4 separate regions of the Homo sapiens genome follow, and regions 2, 3 and 4 are each linked to region 1. The links are contacts of gene promoters, found by promoter capture Hi-C in blood cells and fetal thymus (Javierre and others, 2016). All regions are on one chromosome and are shown on one strand. Each heading gives the region's core, a stretch centred on a gene start or on the middle of the fragment in contact. The rest is flanking DNA. Distances are from core to core; before and after follow the strand shown.

Region 1 (4,018 bases), core at 1-2,500:
CACATTAGATATATTTAAGTAGTGGAGTTGACTCATTCAACATTTTAAAATATTTGTTGAACACCTGCTCTGGAACAAGGCTTGCGCTCAACGCTGGGATCAAAGTGGTAAAGACAGGAAGCATCCCTGCTTCAGCTATAAAACTGTAGTTGCTACCTTTGAGAGCCATCTTTGGGCCAGGCACAAAATCAAATTCTGTGTGTCTTTATAACAGCCTGATGAGACCGTTGTTATTAAGAACTTCACTAAATGTGAAGAAATACACTTAAACTAAGAAATTAGAGTCCCATTTTAAATGCAGGCCAAATGACTGAAAAAAAATTTAGAGTATAATTAAAAAATTAAAAGTACACACTTAAAATGTAGTTTGATAAGTTTTGACAAACGTATATATTTTTACACCACCATTGAGATATAAAACATTCTCATCATCCGAAAAGATTCCTTTGTATCCCCTTCCCAACCACTGATCTGCTTTCTAACATCGTAGTGTTTTCTAGTGTTTCTTATAGATGGAATTATACATTATGTACTCAATTCTTACTTCTTTGACTCAGCATGAATTTGGTGGTGCCCATCACTAATTCATTTTTATTACTGCTGACTTCAGACCTTTAGGGGAGAGAAGACATAAATCAAATAATCACCTAATTAAGTATTTAATTACAACAGCATCAAGTTAACCTAAGGGTAAGTACAAGTGGAAATACATTACCTTGTTTGTTAACAATTCAATCAATACGACCTTGGTGTACAGTGGGGGGCTATAGGGTCATGATTCAGCTTGTGGAAAACAAATGAAAATAAATGTTAGCGAAGAGTGACTCTAAAGAACCTCTGTCCTCACGGTAATTTTTTTAATGTGTCAGATGCTGGTGGGAGGCATTCTTCCTTAGCTCTTTACTCCCATCCCTTACACTTAACAGAGGAAAGGATCTGTAAGGCGCGTACCCCTCTACTGCCCACTGTCGACGAAAACAGCCTCGCCCTGCACCGCCACCGCCACGCATAAGGCGGTGTGTGGGCAGCTCGGACGTGGCACCTGCCCTCAGCTGCTCAATCCCGGGCGCCGCGACGGTCACGTGCACAGCGGCAGGCCTTTTTGCCCCGCCCCCGCGGCCCGGCTCCTGCGTGGGCCCGGCCCCGCCCACAGCCCGCGCAGTCCCGCGAGCCTGGCCTCGGCGGCCCCAGCTTCTAAGGAGCTCGTGAGGGCCAGGCTGCGCCTGCGTCGGGCGGCTGGTGGGCGGGGCGAGGGCCGCTGGGGCCGCGAAGTGGGGCGGCCGGGTGGGCTACAAGCCGGGTCTGGGCTGAGGGGCGCGGCTTCGCGGTGGACCCCAGCCCGGCAACGGGAAGGCGAGCTCTCCTCCACCGTCCAAAGTAAACTTTGCCGCTCCTTCCGCGGCGCTCCCGAGTCCTCGCCGCCGCCGGGCCGCCGCAGTCCGCGAAGAGCCGTCCTGCGTCAGGGCCTCCTTCCCTGCCCCGGCGCGGGGCCACTGCGCCATGGACGCCACAGCACTGGAGCGGGACGCTGTGCAGTTCGCCCGTCTGGCGGTTCAGCGCGACCACGAAGGCCGCTACTCCGAGGCGGTGTTTTATTACAAGGTAGGGCCGGGCCCGGCGCTTCGGTCGGAGTTGCTCAGTCGGAGTGCGGCCCGGGCCTGCGGCCGAGGGGCGGGATCCGGGTGCGGAGGCTAGCGGCCCCGGCTTTGCTTTTCCCTCGTCCGCCTCCCGGCCCTCCTCTTGTTGGGAGCGGCAAGCCCGAGTGCAGAGGCCGACGCTGAGGCTGCGGGGAGGCTGGGTCGCGGCTTGCAGCCGCCGCTCCTCCACCTGTAGTCCTGACTGGCAAATGCCCACCGTTGAGCCGCTTTGGGGGGCAGGTGTTAGATATGGGTAGTTAGTAGCCAATTCTTGCTGTCACTTGACTCTGATTTACAGCTAGCGGGAAATGGCCTGTGATATATATCAAAATAATGCATGCTCGTTAAATAAACTTAAAAAGAATAAAAACCATCTCCTGTCATAGCATTTGACATACAGTCATGCGTCCTTAGCGATGTGATATTTTCTGAGAAATGTGTTCTTAGGCCATTTTGTTGTTGTGCGAACACCGTAGAAAGCGCTTACACAAGCCTGAATGGTACAGCCTGTTCCACACCTAAGCTGTATGGCATGGCCTGTTGCTCCTAGGTTACAGGCCTGCGCAGCGTGTTGCTGTACTCAGTGGTGTGTGCAGTTACATGCAGTGGTAAGTATTTGTGCATCTAAACATAGAAAAGGTACAGTAAACATGCAGCATAAAAGATAAAAAAAAAATACTACACCAGTGTGGGGCACTTACCCACAAAAGGAGCTTGCAGGACTGGAAGTTGCTCTGAGTTGGTGAGTAGTGGTGAGTGAATGTGAAGGCCTGGGACATTCACTGCTCTACTCTTGTAGACTTTATAAGCAGTGTACCCTTAGGCTACGCTAAATTTTTTTAATCTTTCTTCAGTAATAAACTAACCTTAGCTTACGGTAACCCTTTTACTTTATAAACTTCTAAATTTTCTTAACTTTTTAACTCTTTTGTAATAGCTTAAAACGAACTTATTGTGCAGTTACACAAACATTTTCTTTATATCTTTATTTGGTAAGTTTTTTTGTTTCTTTTTTTTTTTTTATTCTTTAGTTAAAAACTAAGGCACACGTTAGCCTAGGCCTACACCTCGTCAGGATCATCAATATTACTGTCTTCCACCTCCAATCTTGTCCCACTGGGAGGTCTTCAGGAGCAATAACAGGAATGAAACTGTCGTCTCCTATGATAACAATGTCTCTTGAAATATCTCCTGAAGGACATGTCAGAGACTGTTTTATAGTTAACTTTTTTTTATAAAAGGAGTATACTAACAGTACATAGTATAGCATAGTAAATACATAAACCAGTAACATAGTTGTTGATTATCAAGTATTATGTACTCTACATTATTGTGTGTGGTAGACTTTTACACCACTGGCACCCCAGTAGGTTTGTTTACATCAGCATCACCACAAACATGCGAGTAAAGTGTTGTGCTATGACATTATGATGGCTATGACATGACCAGGCAATAGGAATTTTTCAACTCCATTATAATCTTAGGGGACCACTATCATATATTCAGTCTGTTGTTGACTGAAATGTTATGTGGTGTGTGACTATATTTTTGTGTTTTTTTATGCGTATGTGTATATGCTTTTTTTTTTTTTTTACAAACTGGTTTATACTGTTTTTAGTAATAGCTGCACAGTAGTTCATTATGTGGGTGTACCATATTTTTTTTTTTAAGAGACAGCGTCTTGCCCTGTCACTCAGCCTGGAGTGCCGTGGCCCACTAATAATAGCTCATTGCAGCCTCAAACTGCAAAGCTCAAGCAATCCTCCTGCCTCAGTCTCCCAATTGGTGGGACTACAGGTAGACACAACCACACTTGGCTAATTTTTTTTTTTTTTTTTTTTTTGTGTAGAAATGGAGTCTCGCTGTGTTGCCCAGGCTGGTTTCGAACTCCTGGGTCAAGCGATCTTCCTGCCTCAGTCTCCCAAAATGCTGGAATTACAGGCGTGAGCCTCTGTGCCTGTCCAGTGTACTATAATTAATTTACAGACTCTTGGGCATTCAGTTGATTTTGTTTTTTCAACATCATAAGTAACGATGTAGTTCATATCTTTATAACTAATTCTTATGACTAGTGCAAATTTTTGCCTGAATTTTCTTTGGGATAAATTACCGGGGACAGAATTGATAAATCAAAGGGTATGAGCTTCCATGGTCCACTCTCTTCTCTCCAATTCTGAGGATTTGCAAATATACCCCTCTAGCTCTAGCTAGATTTGGAGGGAGCTGTGTCCTCATGATAGTGTCACCTTTTCTTTTAGAAAGATTATCAGACTTTGATAATACTGTACAATAGTAGTACTTTTTTTCACAAATGTATGTGCTGTCAATAAAGTGTGGTTTGTTTCAGATTAATATTTTGTTGCTTTCATTTTATAATCTTT
Region 2 (4,018 bases), core at 534-3,033, 980 kb after region 1:
GTCCCAGCCCTAGCAGCCTCAGGCCTGGCCTAGAAGTTGGTATGGTGTTCCCAAGATAAGTGCCACCAATTACAGGCAAGCTAGGATTTTCTTGCAATGGAGGAACTTGGCTCTGTGGGATTACTCCCCTGTTAATCTTGACAACCAACTTACACACTTCCTGAGAACAAGTTCAGTGTCTTTCTTCCTTCAGTGAACAAATAGCTATTGAACAACTATCAGAAGTAAGAAGGTAAGCAATACCCAGCCCCAACCCCAAGAAGCTTGGGGTGCACTGGGGGATGCAGACAAGCAAACAGGCTGGTACATCAGTGGGATCAGGGCTGAGATAGAGAAGCCTATCCGAGTGGGGCGCCTCCACTGATTTGATAGGAACTGGGAGTCAGTATCCCCAAAACAGCTTTAGGAAACCTGGCAGAAACCTTTCTACTCTGGCCAGGCAAGGGGAGGGAGGGAAGAGCGTCAGTACTACAGCCAGGCCATCTGGTGCAATGCTGTGACTCATTCTCTTCAGAGCCATCATCCAAATGCATTTTTCCAAGTTCACAGGGGATCCTGGAGCTGCAGGAAAAGAGGGTGTGCATCTGTATGTAAACACAAGACACCAGACTCCTCTGATCTTGGAGTGTGAAGATATAAAGCTAGCCTGCAGAACAGCTCTCTTAGGCTAAGATTATCCCTTTCAATCCAGGACACACCCCTGGGCTGGAGAAAGGTATCAACATCCCTGTGTTGGCTAATTAGGGATTAAGCCCAGGTTGATTTGAGTCCAAAGCCCTTGGTTGTTCCTGTCCCGCTGCTCCCACTCAAAGGATGAACAAAGGAGGTCAGGGGTGGGGTTTTGGACACTTGAGTGACACATACAAACCGAGATAGTAAAATATTCACCGGATATTTCGTTGAAGCAGAGAAGTTAGCCTCATTATTTAACAATAAAAACATACATTTCTTCCTGGATCCTCTGCATAAGTCCCTAGTCACTTGGGGCCTTGCTTTATGATGTTCAAGAGCCTTTGCCATGCTCTGCCTCATTGGTTGGCTCAGCAATGCTATGAATGTCTTTCCTTCAGTTCCTGGTACATGCCAGCCCTTTCCCACCTCTGGGCCTTAGCAGAGGCTGTGACACCTGCCAGGCATGTCATTCATTCCCCACCTGCACTCTCTCTCTGGGCTGTGTCCTACCCACCCTTCAGGTCTTGGCTTTGATTTCACGTCCCTACATCCAGAACGTCTCACTACAGCTGCTGAATAATGATTTGGTTATGTTTAATAGGACATAAACTCCATGCTATTAGGGGCTATCTTAGTTTAGGTTTCCCCTAAAGAAGATCCTGAAAGAAGGCTTCATTTTGCCGGTTATCCCAAGAAGCACGGGTAGGGGCTCAGGAAAGCGGAGCAGAGATGCCTGAGAGAGGCATGTGTTCAAGGCAGCTACCTCTGTGGGCAGCTGGAGCTCAGCCCTTGGAGACAGTGTAGAACATGCATGCATCTCAGCGCTTCCTACCCTCTGCCCTTAGGGGTGAGGGTGCTGGGTGTTTAATAAACCAACTCTTTTCAATCACTGGCTGAGCACAGCTCACTGGGGTGGGGTAGGGGTTAATTTTCCAGCTCTTCAGGGATGCTCTGACTGGGGAAATCACACTGGTCAGCCAGAGAAAGCCCTAGGGCCATTAGAAGTTGGGCCGTCCTGTATCATAATGAGATGGCCCAAGAGGATATGGGCAGGGGCACCACAGATTGTGGTCAGGCATCATGTCTATTTCATTCATCTTTCAGTCCTAACACATAATAGGCTGTCAATAAATATCTGTTAAATGACTTGATAGAGAGATGGAAGGTGAAGATTAAAGAGAAAATCAGAATGAAGATAGGCAGTCCTGTCTAGAGCCTCCTCAATGAATAAATATCCTGTTTCCTTACTCTGAGCTTCCTGGCAGCCACACTGAAAAATAAAAAAAGACGATATTCTTATTTGTATTCTTCATGAGGAGGAAGCACACTGTTGCTCAGATGAAGGAAAGTATTTTGTGGCACTTATATCTGCAAGGACTTTTCTTCCAAAGCATCAAAGTGGAGATAACAAGTGACAGGGGGACAACATCCTCAATAAGTTCCCTCGGTAATGGAGAGCAGGTTTCCTAAAAGTGATTCTTGCATTGTTCCCTGATGAAAGCTGAGAGCACGATGACAAGCACGACTCCCTGTAAGCACATTTGTAAGGCAGCCAAGACTGAGGGGTCAAGTAAGTTGCCTTTTGAAGACCTTAAGGAATCAGCGTAGACAGTGCAGAATGTGTGGAGGAACTGATGGATCGCATGTTTTTCAAATAACCTTCCATCATTGTCCCTTTATGACTCTGAATCCAGAACATTCTGCTCGCACTGTAGTCCAAGATGGTGATAGACAGACAGATAGATAGATAGATAGATAGATAGATAGATAGATAGATAGATGATAGATTATAGCAATATACTATCAGCTATTTGCCGTGTAACTTTAAACAGGTCATTTAAGCTCTCTGGGCTCTAGTTTCCTCATCTTAAAAATGGGAAAGTGTGTCCATGATCTAGTGCTGTATAACGCACCTTATCAAAACTTAGTAGATTTTAAAAAATAGATATTTTTAAAACTTTGGTGCTTCAAAAGATGTCATCAAGAAAGTGAAAAGACAATCCAAGAGTAGAAGAAAATGTTTGTAAGTCCTATATTGCATAAGAGATTTGTATCCAAAATACAAAAAGAACCCTTACAACCCAACAATTAAACAACAAAACACTCCATTTTAAAATGGGCAAAGGATTTGAATAGACATTTCTTCAAAGAAGACATAAAAATGGTCAATAGCACACGAAAAGATGTTCAAATCATTAGTCAGTAGGAAAATACAAATCAAAACCACAATGAGATGACATTTTACCCCCACTAGGATGGCTGAAGTAAAAGACAGTGCAAGTGCTGACAAGGATGTGGAGAAATTGGAACCCTCACACATTGCTGGTGGGATTGTAAAATGGTGCAACTGCTTTGGAAAACAGTTTGGCAGTTCCCCAACATGTTAAACATGGAGCTATCATATGGCCAGTAATACCAGTCCTAGGTATATACTCAAGAAAATTAAAAACATGTTCACATGAAAACTTATACATGAATATTCATAGTGGCATTAGTCATAATATAAGTCAAAATAGGAGCAATCCAAATGTCCATCAGCTGATGAATGGACAAACAAAATGTGGTATATTCAAACAATGAAATATTAGGCAGTAAAAAGAAATGAAGTACTGATATAGACTACAACATGATTAAGCTTGAAAACATTATGATAAGTGAAAGAAATCAGTCACAAAAGGCCACGTTATGTCATTTCATTCATATGAAGTGTCCAAAGTAGGCAAGTCTGTAAAGACAGAAAGTAGGTTAGTGGTTGCCACGGGCTGTGGTAGTTGTGGGAGCAGTGGGAAGTGACTGCCAATGGGTAGTAGGTTTTTGGGGGTGGGGTGTTGAAAACGTTCTCAAATTAGACAGTGGTGATGGCTGCACACCTTTATACTTGAATCCATGGAATTGTACACTTTATAAAGGTGGACATTATGGTATGTGAATTATATCTCAATAAAAATATTATTAAAACATTAGTGATTTCAGGCCGGGCGTGGTGGCTCACTCCTGTAATCCCAGCACTTTGGGAGGCCGAGGCGGGTGGATCATGAGGTCAGGAGTTCAAGACCAGCCTGACCAACATGGTGAAACCCCGTCTCTACAAAAAATACAAAAATTAGCGAGGCATGGTGGTGCATGCCTGTAATCCCAGCTACTCAGGAGGCTGAGGTGGGAGAATCGCCTGAACCTGGGAGGTGGAGGTTGCAGTGAGCTAAGATAATGCCACTGCACTCCAGCCTGGGTGACAGAACAAGACTCCATCTCAAAAAAAAAATTAGTGATTTCAAACAATAACCATTTCTATGTTATGGTTCTATAATTTGGACCGGACTCAGCCAGGCAGTTCTTCTGCTGATCT
Region 3 (4,018 bases), core at 406-2,905, 570 kb after region 1:
AACCAAATACCTTTAGATCATAAACTTGCTGAAGTCAGGGGCTATGTTTTCTTTATATTCATTCGCTTCTAACACTTAGTAATTTGTTATGCAGCAATAAAAAATGCGTATCATACATAAGTATCTTTTTTCTGGAGCTCCTTTCGTGGTCTCCCAGCTGGTATTACATCAGCCTAATAGGTGTCCATAGCACTCTGAACGTCTCCCTTGTAACAATCATCATATTAATTGACTTGTTTCATGTTCAATGGCTCTAACTCTGGAGATAGGAATCTTGTTTATTCCCTGTTTTTATACCCAGAGTATGATAAATAGTAGCTATTTTAAAAAAGTGCAACAGCTTAAAACAAATAATCTTTTAGTTCACAGTTTTAAGGGCAGTAATTCAGGCATGGTGTGACTGGGTTCTCTGCTGAGGGTTACACAAAGTTGAAATCAAGGTGTTGATGGGCTGTGTTCTCACCTAGAGACCTGACTAAAGGAAAAAAAATCTGTTTTTTGGCTCATTCAGGAAATGGTCAGTTCTTTGTCCTTCTAAGACCTCCATTTTCCTTTCCCAGTTGTCAGCCAGAGGTCACCCTCCACTAGCAGAGAATGCCTGAGTTCTTACCATATGGCTCCCTCCATCTTCAAAGCCAGCAAGAGAGAATATCCTTCACATCAAATCCCTCTCATACGTCTAATCTCCTACTCTCTTTGTTCCTAACTCTAGACCCAGATTTAGAGTTCATGTGATTAGGGCACACCCATCTAGATAATCTCACTTACCTAGAGTCAGCTTTGTGCTCTGCCAGATGACATAAACTAATCAGGAATGAGACCTGATATGGTTTGGCTCTGTATCCCTACCCAAATTTAATCTTAAATTGTAATAATCCCTACGTGTCAAGGATGGGACTAGGTGGAGGTAAATGAATCATGGGGGGCAGTTCCCCCATGCTATTCTCATGATAATAAGTGAGTCTCAGGAGATCTGATGGTTGTATAAGTATGTAGCATTTGCCCTGCTGGCAGTCATTCTCTCTCCTGTCACCCTGTGAAGAGGTGCCTTCTGCCATGATTGTAAGTTTCCTGAGGCCCCCACAGCCATGCAGAACTGTGAGTCAATTAAACCTCTTTTTTAATAAATTACCCAGTCTCAGGTAGTTCTTCATAGCAGAGGGAGAACAAACTCATACAATACCCTATCATGCTTACAATACCAGAAATAATACAGGGGACCATCTTAAAAGTCTGCCTACCATAAACTGCAGCCTGAAAGCTTAAGACGAGGCAAAGGAAGAGGGTGAGAATGCAGGTACAACTGATAATCTGATATAAGGAAATAACATTAAAAAGCAGGGAGAAGAAATTATGCATGATTGGACTTGCCTTCACAGGAACCAGCATAGTAACTGGCACATATTACTAGACAAGTGAATAAACCAACATACCAAATATTATCAAATTAAACAAGCAAGTATTTACTAAAGAGCTTATATGCTTATAGCTACAAGAGAAAAGAAATTACTTATAATGCTAAGCCACTAGGTAGAATTGAGAGGTGACATACCAGGGCAGACAATATGGACAAAAAACTAAATTTGACATAAAGAAAACTGCGTTAAGATATCTTTGAGATCTTGGAAAGTGACCAAATGGAAGCAACCAAATCAAATAATTCCAAGGGCCTTAGTTTTGCCTCATCTGTAACGGAGTTGATTTAACTACTTAATCTTTAAGATCCCTTTCCAGTGCTGACTATCCTACAATATGGAAGGCATGGTTCTTGCCCCAGGACAAATTCCCTGTAGGTATTTTAGAATCTAGTTATTAATTCATGTTGTAATCTAGACACTGCTCTATAATAATATATAAAAATACAGACAGCATCCTATTCTAAGTACTGAATTTATTCCATTCTACAAATTTAGCAGTAATCAGATATTTCTAAGGCTTACTTGCTTTTTGTAGAATAATAAAACACTAAAATTACACATCAATAACAGGTCCTGTAAAGGCCAAAAATGGCAGGCCCACAGCTAACATCACACTTAACGTACAAAGTTGAAAGCTTTCTTCTAAGACGAGGGACAAGAATGCTGCCCACCCTCACCACTCCTATCCACCATAGTGCTGCAAGTCCTAGCCAGAACAATTAGGCAAGAGAAAGAAGTAAAAGGCATCCTAATAAAAAAGAAAGAAATGAAATTTTATTTGCAGACATGATCTTACACAGAGAAATCCCTAAAGAGACACCAAAAAATGACTGAAACTGACAAATGAATTAAGTTGCAAGATACAAAATCAACATACAAAAAAAATCAGTAGCCTTTCTGTATACTAACAACAAACTATCTAAAAAGGAAATTAAGAAAACAATCCCATTTATAATAGCAACAACAAAAAAAAGTAACATATTTAGGTGAAAATTTAACCAAACAGGTAAAAGATCTGTATACTAAAAACTATAAAACATTAATGAAAACAAATTGAAGAAAACACAAATAAATGAGAAGATATACTGTGTTCATGAACTAAAAAATTAATATTGTTAAAATGTCCATATTATCCAAAGCAATCCACAAATTCAGTGCAATCCCTATCAAAATTCCAATGTAATTTTTCACAGAAAATAGAAAAAACAACCCTTAAATTCATATGAAACAATAAAAGACCATGAATAGTTAAAAACAATAACCAGCGAAAAAAACAAAGCTGGAGGCATCACACTGCTGATTTCAAAATATATTATAAAGCTACTGTAATCAAGACAGCATAGTATTGGCATAAAAACAGACACAGTGACCAATGGAACAGGACAGAAAGCCCAGAAATAAATTCACTCATTTATGGTCACTTGATTTTTGACAAAGGTGCCAAGAACACATAATGTGGAAAGAACAGCCTCTTCAATAAAAGATGTTAGGAAAACTGGATATCCAGATGCAGAAGAATGAAACTGGATCCTTATCTCATACCATATATAAAAATCAGCTCAAAATACATTAAAGACTTAAATATAAGACCTGAAATTATAAAACTATAAACAAGGCGGGGAAGCACCACAATACTGGTCTGGGCAATATTTTTTTGGATATGACCTGAAAGCACAAGCAACAAAAACAAAAACTGGCAAATGGGACTGCATTAAATGAAAAAGCTTTTGCACAGAAAAAAAAAAAATCACATGTATATATTAGCAAACCGTATATTTGATAAAGAATTTATATTCAAAGTATATAATAAACTCAACTCAAAAGCAAGAAAACAACCTGATTAAAAGAGGCAAAGGACCTGTCATGACTAATTTTAGGTGTCCATCTGACTGAATTAAAGGATACTTAGATAGCTGGTATGGCATTATTTCTGTAGAAATCCATGAGGATGTTTCTGGAGGAGACTGGCATGTGAGTCAGTGGACTGAGTGGGGAAGATCTGCCCTCATTGTGGGCAGGTCTGGATGGAACAAAAAGGTGAAGGAAAAAAAAAATCACAAACAATAAGTGAAGTGATGGATATATTAGCTTGATTTAATCATCCCACATTGTATACATATACCAAAATATTACATTGTACTCTACAAATATATACAATTATGATTTGGCAATTAAAACTAATATTAATAATAAAAAGTAGAGGTGATGCCATCTGTGACTGGACAATTGTAATCATCAAATGCAATCCAGTTGTTCGGCAGGCTAATGTTTAGAATTTCTATTCCAGAAGTACTGCTGGAATATAAAAGAAAATTACCATTTCACAAAATATGTAATGTCTAAGTCTGAAAACATTCAGTGGAATGTCAGCTGCTTCAATCAATAAAATTCTTAATGCTGTATACAAAGTTTTGTTGTTGTTGTTTTTAATTCCCTGTGAGTTTAGGAGACAGTCTGCAGCGAACAAAGGGGCTGGAATTCTCAGGACAGAGCAACAGAGGAGAAAGTAGTACATGGAGAGACTCCCAAAGATCTGCAGAATCTCGCCTTAGTACTCAACTGAGTACTGAGTGGGAAAGGAGTGTAAGAATACTACCTGA
Region 4 (4,018 bases), core at 391-2,890, 560 kb after region 1:
TAACATGAAGTGTAAACACCTACACTAAATTTTCATTACTAACTATAAACAAATTAGCCTAATTTTGTTGCCTATATTTCTCTTCATGTATTTTTTTCTCATCTTTACCTAGAGAATTGATCAGATCAAATATCTAGTTTCAATTCTAATTTATAACTCAACTTACCATAATTCATTAAAAGGCTGTTTTGATGGATCCAGAATTTAAAATTAGGGTTATAGAAATCAGTCAGTTTAACTTGGGCCTCAGCAACCATGGCATTCAAACCAAATTTAAGCAGAACTCCTGGAGCATCTATACAGAACCTTATGAGTCTATATACTATATATTGTCTGAAGACTATTCTTCTGATATTTATTCTGAACTAAAATTTGGATACGATTAGTCTTTTACTACCCTGCTATTCTGGAAATCTATTTCCAATATAAAAGTAAGAATTCACTGGTTAGCTTATACTTGACTTCTAAAATGTGTAGTATATCTTCTGTAAAACTGTCCTAATCAACTTTCAATTTAAAGAGTTAATAGGAATTTAAAATGGATATAACATGAATGAACTGAAGAAATATCCACCAATCAAAATTCCTTCCTGATCAGGTTTCTGGTTCAGATTTCAAAATCTCTCCTGGGCTGGGCATGGTGGCTCACAGCTGTAATCCCAGCACTTTGGGAGGCCGTGGTGGGTGGATCACCTGGGGTCAGGAGTTCGAGACCAGCCTGGCCAACATGGTGAAACCCCATCTCTACTAAAAATACAAAAATTAGTTGGGCCTGGTGATGCATGCCTGTAATCCCAGCTACTCAGGAGGCTGAGGCAGGAGAATCATTTGAACCTGGTAGGTGGAGGTTGCAGTAAACCGAGAGATGGTGCCACTGCCCTCCAGCCTGGGTAACAGAGCAAGACTATGTCTTTAAAAAAAAAAAAAAAAAAAAAAAAACAAAACAAAAAAAAAAAAACTCTCCTGGTTCCTTCCTCATTTATGTGAAAGGATATTTTTATAAAAGGCTATGGGAGTTATCCTCTATAGTGTCAACTTTCGTAAGTTAAATACACATCCTGATTACTACCTATCTTTTTGTTAGAGCTCTGTTATCCATAAATTACAGGAGCCCTTACTATTTCCTCAGGGGAGCAAATACCTACCCTGTTCAGGAAGGTACTTATATCATATTAAAGCTTTAAAGGCTGTTTCTTGATTGTAGAATTTAAAACATATAAATACACTTCTCCAGAGTATATAGAGTCTATTTTTTTTCAACCTTTGTCTTTCTAGATTGTGGAAATAAATTATTTTTCATTTTCCCCCAGTAGGTAAGTCATTCCTTCCTCTTTATCATTTCAGAACGTAATAACTGGACTTCAAAACTGACAGCGGAGAATTTTTAAGAAAGCATATCTAAAAGTCACAGAGAAGATAATTCCTGATATCAAGGAATTTATTTACTTGGCAGAACCAAAAAAGTGAAGGAAAAAATAGAAATGCTCCTTAAAAAAAAATAGCCATAATTTTGAATACTATATGCCAGGGACTTTTCTAGGTATCTTAATGACATAATCTCATTTGCTTCTTTAAGCCTATAAATTTTATATTATTCCCATTTTTTTAGATGAGGAAGTTGAGGCTCAGAGAGCAAATAAACTTCAAAAGATCATGGAGGTGCTAAGAGGTAAGGCCAGGACTGTATCCAAATCTGTCTGGCAAAAGAGCTTGTGACATTCACACTATCTGTAGTGTCTCTCATGGCAACACAAAGCCTGGTTTATTTCTTTATTTTTTTTGTTTATAAGCAGAAAGCTGAGGTTCTAGTTCAATAGAAATCTAGCCTTGGATTTTACTCCAGCTAATTTTACTCCAAACCCATGTAAGTTTTTGTTTTATTTTTCCTAAATTAGAGCCTAACTGGTAAGTCTAAAGAGAAAAAAGTCTAAGACCCTGAGTTGCACTCAAAGACAAATCATTCGCCTTCTTTCCCTTTCCACTTACCTGATACCCTTCAACCCTTAACTTCTACCCATCCCCACCTCTCCCATTCTCATTTCCATTAAAGACTTGAGAAACAAACCAAAATGTAAACAAATTTCTGAAAAGGAGACACAGTCTAAGCTTATATTGCTATAATCACCATCCCAGGCACTTTAAATAAATATGCTAGGAAGGCAAAGTAGACTAACTGCCTGCCTTCTTGGAGTTTACATTCTGGAGGAGATAAAACGACAGTAAACAAGTAATTTAAAAAGGATGTCAGGTAACAATAAACACTAGGAGAAAAGATAACACAGGCGAGGGGGATTAGGTGGTAGTGGTAGTGACCAAGGAAGATCTTGTTGATGATGCGACATCTGAGCAAGGACATGAAAAGGTTCATGGTGTAAGCGGCTGAAGAAGGTTTAAGGCTAAGGAAACAGCAGTGCGAAGAACCAGAGGTAGAAGGCAGCCAGTAGGGTTAGAGCAGAGCAAACAAAAAGAGAGTAGCAGGAATTCAAGTCAGAAGAAATCTGGGGTGGGGAGATAATGTACAGCTCTAAGGCCAATGTAAAAACTTAATTTTTTTTTATTGAGAACTGAGAACAATTGAATTCATCCAAAATTGTATTTTTCCTTTGAAAAATAGCTACATGAGCTATATTACCTCTTTACACTGATAAAACATTAAAAGTACTTTTTGGCTGGGCACAGTGCCTCACACTTGTAATCTCAGCACTTTCGGAGGCTGAGGCAGGCAAATCACCTGAGACCAGGAGTTCAAGACCAGCCTGGCCAACATGGTGAAACCCCATCTCTTACTAAAAATACAAAAATTAGCCAGGCCTGGTGCCACACACCTGCAGTCCCAGCTACTCGGGAGGCTGAGGCAGGTGAATCGCTTGAACCCGGGAAGTTGCACTGAGCTGAGATTGTGCCACTGCACTCCAGCCTGGGCGACAGAGCGAGATTCTGTCTCAAAGAAAAATAAAAAAAGTATTTTTTAAAGGTAAGTTCAAATAGCTTTTTATACAAGTATCATGGTTAATTTTACACATGATTTGTACTTGGATTATTCAGAAGAAACTAAGCATTCTCTCAAATGCTTATTTCACAGCTGACATCTAGATACTATCATGCTCATGATAAGACTCATTTGACCATCATACTTACAGAAACCAGGAAGTCAACCTTCTACAAGTAACTAAAAATCCTTGTTGCAAACATTCACTTTTAAAAGGAAGGGATTAAGTCAACTTTGAGCATTTGAAAAGTTTCTCCTGGGTGTAAAAATAAAAAATGAAAAAAAAAAACAAACCCTCCACGTGGAATCATATAAAATAATATTTATGACAAAACAAAAATAATCAGAATTCTGTGTTAAAATAAAAAATGCAGCAGTAGACTTCTTATCCAGTCCTAAACTGTTTCTTGGATGATGTTTGTGTAGAAAATTCCATAAACTTGAGTCCCATTAATTTATATTATTAAAAGAAATAATTTTGTCAACCTCCTCAGTTCTTATCTTGAGTAAATTTTAGCTGAAAATTAATAAGGAACAGGCATCTTCAGGGAAGTACATCAGCGGTGAAATTATTCATAAAGAAGCTAACAAAATATTAGCCAGGTCCATGTTTAACCATATTTAATTTTATATGATCATGAAATCTGATATAGAAATAAGGTATTTTTTAAAAATCCAACTGATTCTTAAATTTTTATGAATTTGTAACGGCAAAACTCTGGGCTATTATTTAACGAAATCTTCACACAAAATTTCTCCCTCTGAGCCCTCCTTTCCACAAACTATCAAAGGAATACTACTACTAATCCAATTTCATTATGCATGTAGGTATGCAATTTGGCAATACAAGCTCAAATCAATGACATATATCCTTTCCCAATAAATATCATTACAATCATCTGGCTATAACAAAAGTATTTCTAAACTCTGTCTGTCTGCTTGCCTTTTTTGGGACTGCACGTAGTCTGACCACAATAGGAGCTATTCTATCATAGACAGTTCTAGTATTACTTCATATTATAAAGACTT

The links. The method cuts DNA at HindIII sites, captures the fragments that hold promoters and counts their contacts. A CHiCAGO score of 5 or more calls a contact.
Region 2: a contact is called between a fragment that was not itself captured here and the fragment with the promoter of CAPN7 in region 1, in 1 of 17 cell types (total B cells). The highest score is 5.0, in total B cells.
Region 3: a fragment that was not itself captured here is called in contact with the fragment with the promoter of CAPN7 in region 1 in 1 of 17 cell types (M1 macrophages); the score reaches 5.5 in M1 macrophages.
Region 4: a fragment that was not itself captured here is called in contact with the fragment with the promoter of CAPN7 in region 1 in 1 of 17 cell types (M0 macrophages); the score reaches 5.0 in M0 macrophages.

Annotation. Positions count from the first base shown.
Region 1 is chr3:15,204,996-15,209,013 of GRCh38, forward strand. It overlaps CAPN7 (calpain 7), which reads left to right and starts at 1,251. Exons shown (of 21, transcript NM_014296.3): 1 at 1,251-1,602. The coding sequence starts at 1,501. It also overlaps the pseudogene COL6A4P1. RefSeq lists a silencer at 957-1,476. The HindIII fragment of the contact is 5,244 bases long and covers 1-4,018 here.
Region 2 is chr3:16,183,340-16,187,357 of GRCh38, forward strand. The region is part of intron 1 of GALNT15 (polypeptide N-acetylgalactosaminyltransferase 15); the gene reads left to right. Among named protein-coding and RNA genes, the nearest start is that of GALNT15, 11 kb to the left of the region's middle. The HindIII fragment of the contact is 3,044 bases long and covers 262-3,305 here.
Region 3 is chr3:15,777,943-15,781,960 of GRCh38, forward strand. The region is part of intron 2 of ANKRD28 (ankyrin repeat domain 28); the gene reads right to left. Among named protein-coding and RNA genes, the nearest start is that of ANKRD28, 18 kb to the right of the region's middle. The HindIII fragment of the contact is 792 bases long and covers 1,260-2,051 here.
Region 4 is chr3:15,761,275-15,765,292 of GRCh38, forward strand. All of the region lies in intron 3 of ANKRD28 (ankyrin repeat domain 28), which reads right to left. LOC101927647 (a long non-coding RNA gene) reads left to right here. Exons shown (of 2, transcript XR_001740422.2): 2 at 1-912. Among named protein-coding and RNA genes, the nearest start is that of ANKRD28, 35 kb to the right of the region's middle. The HindIII fragment of the contact is 928 bases long and covers 1,177-2,104 here.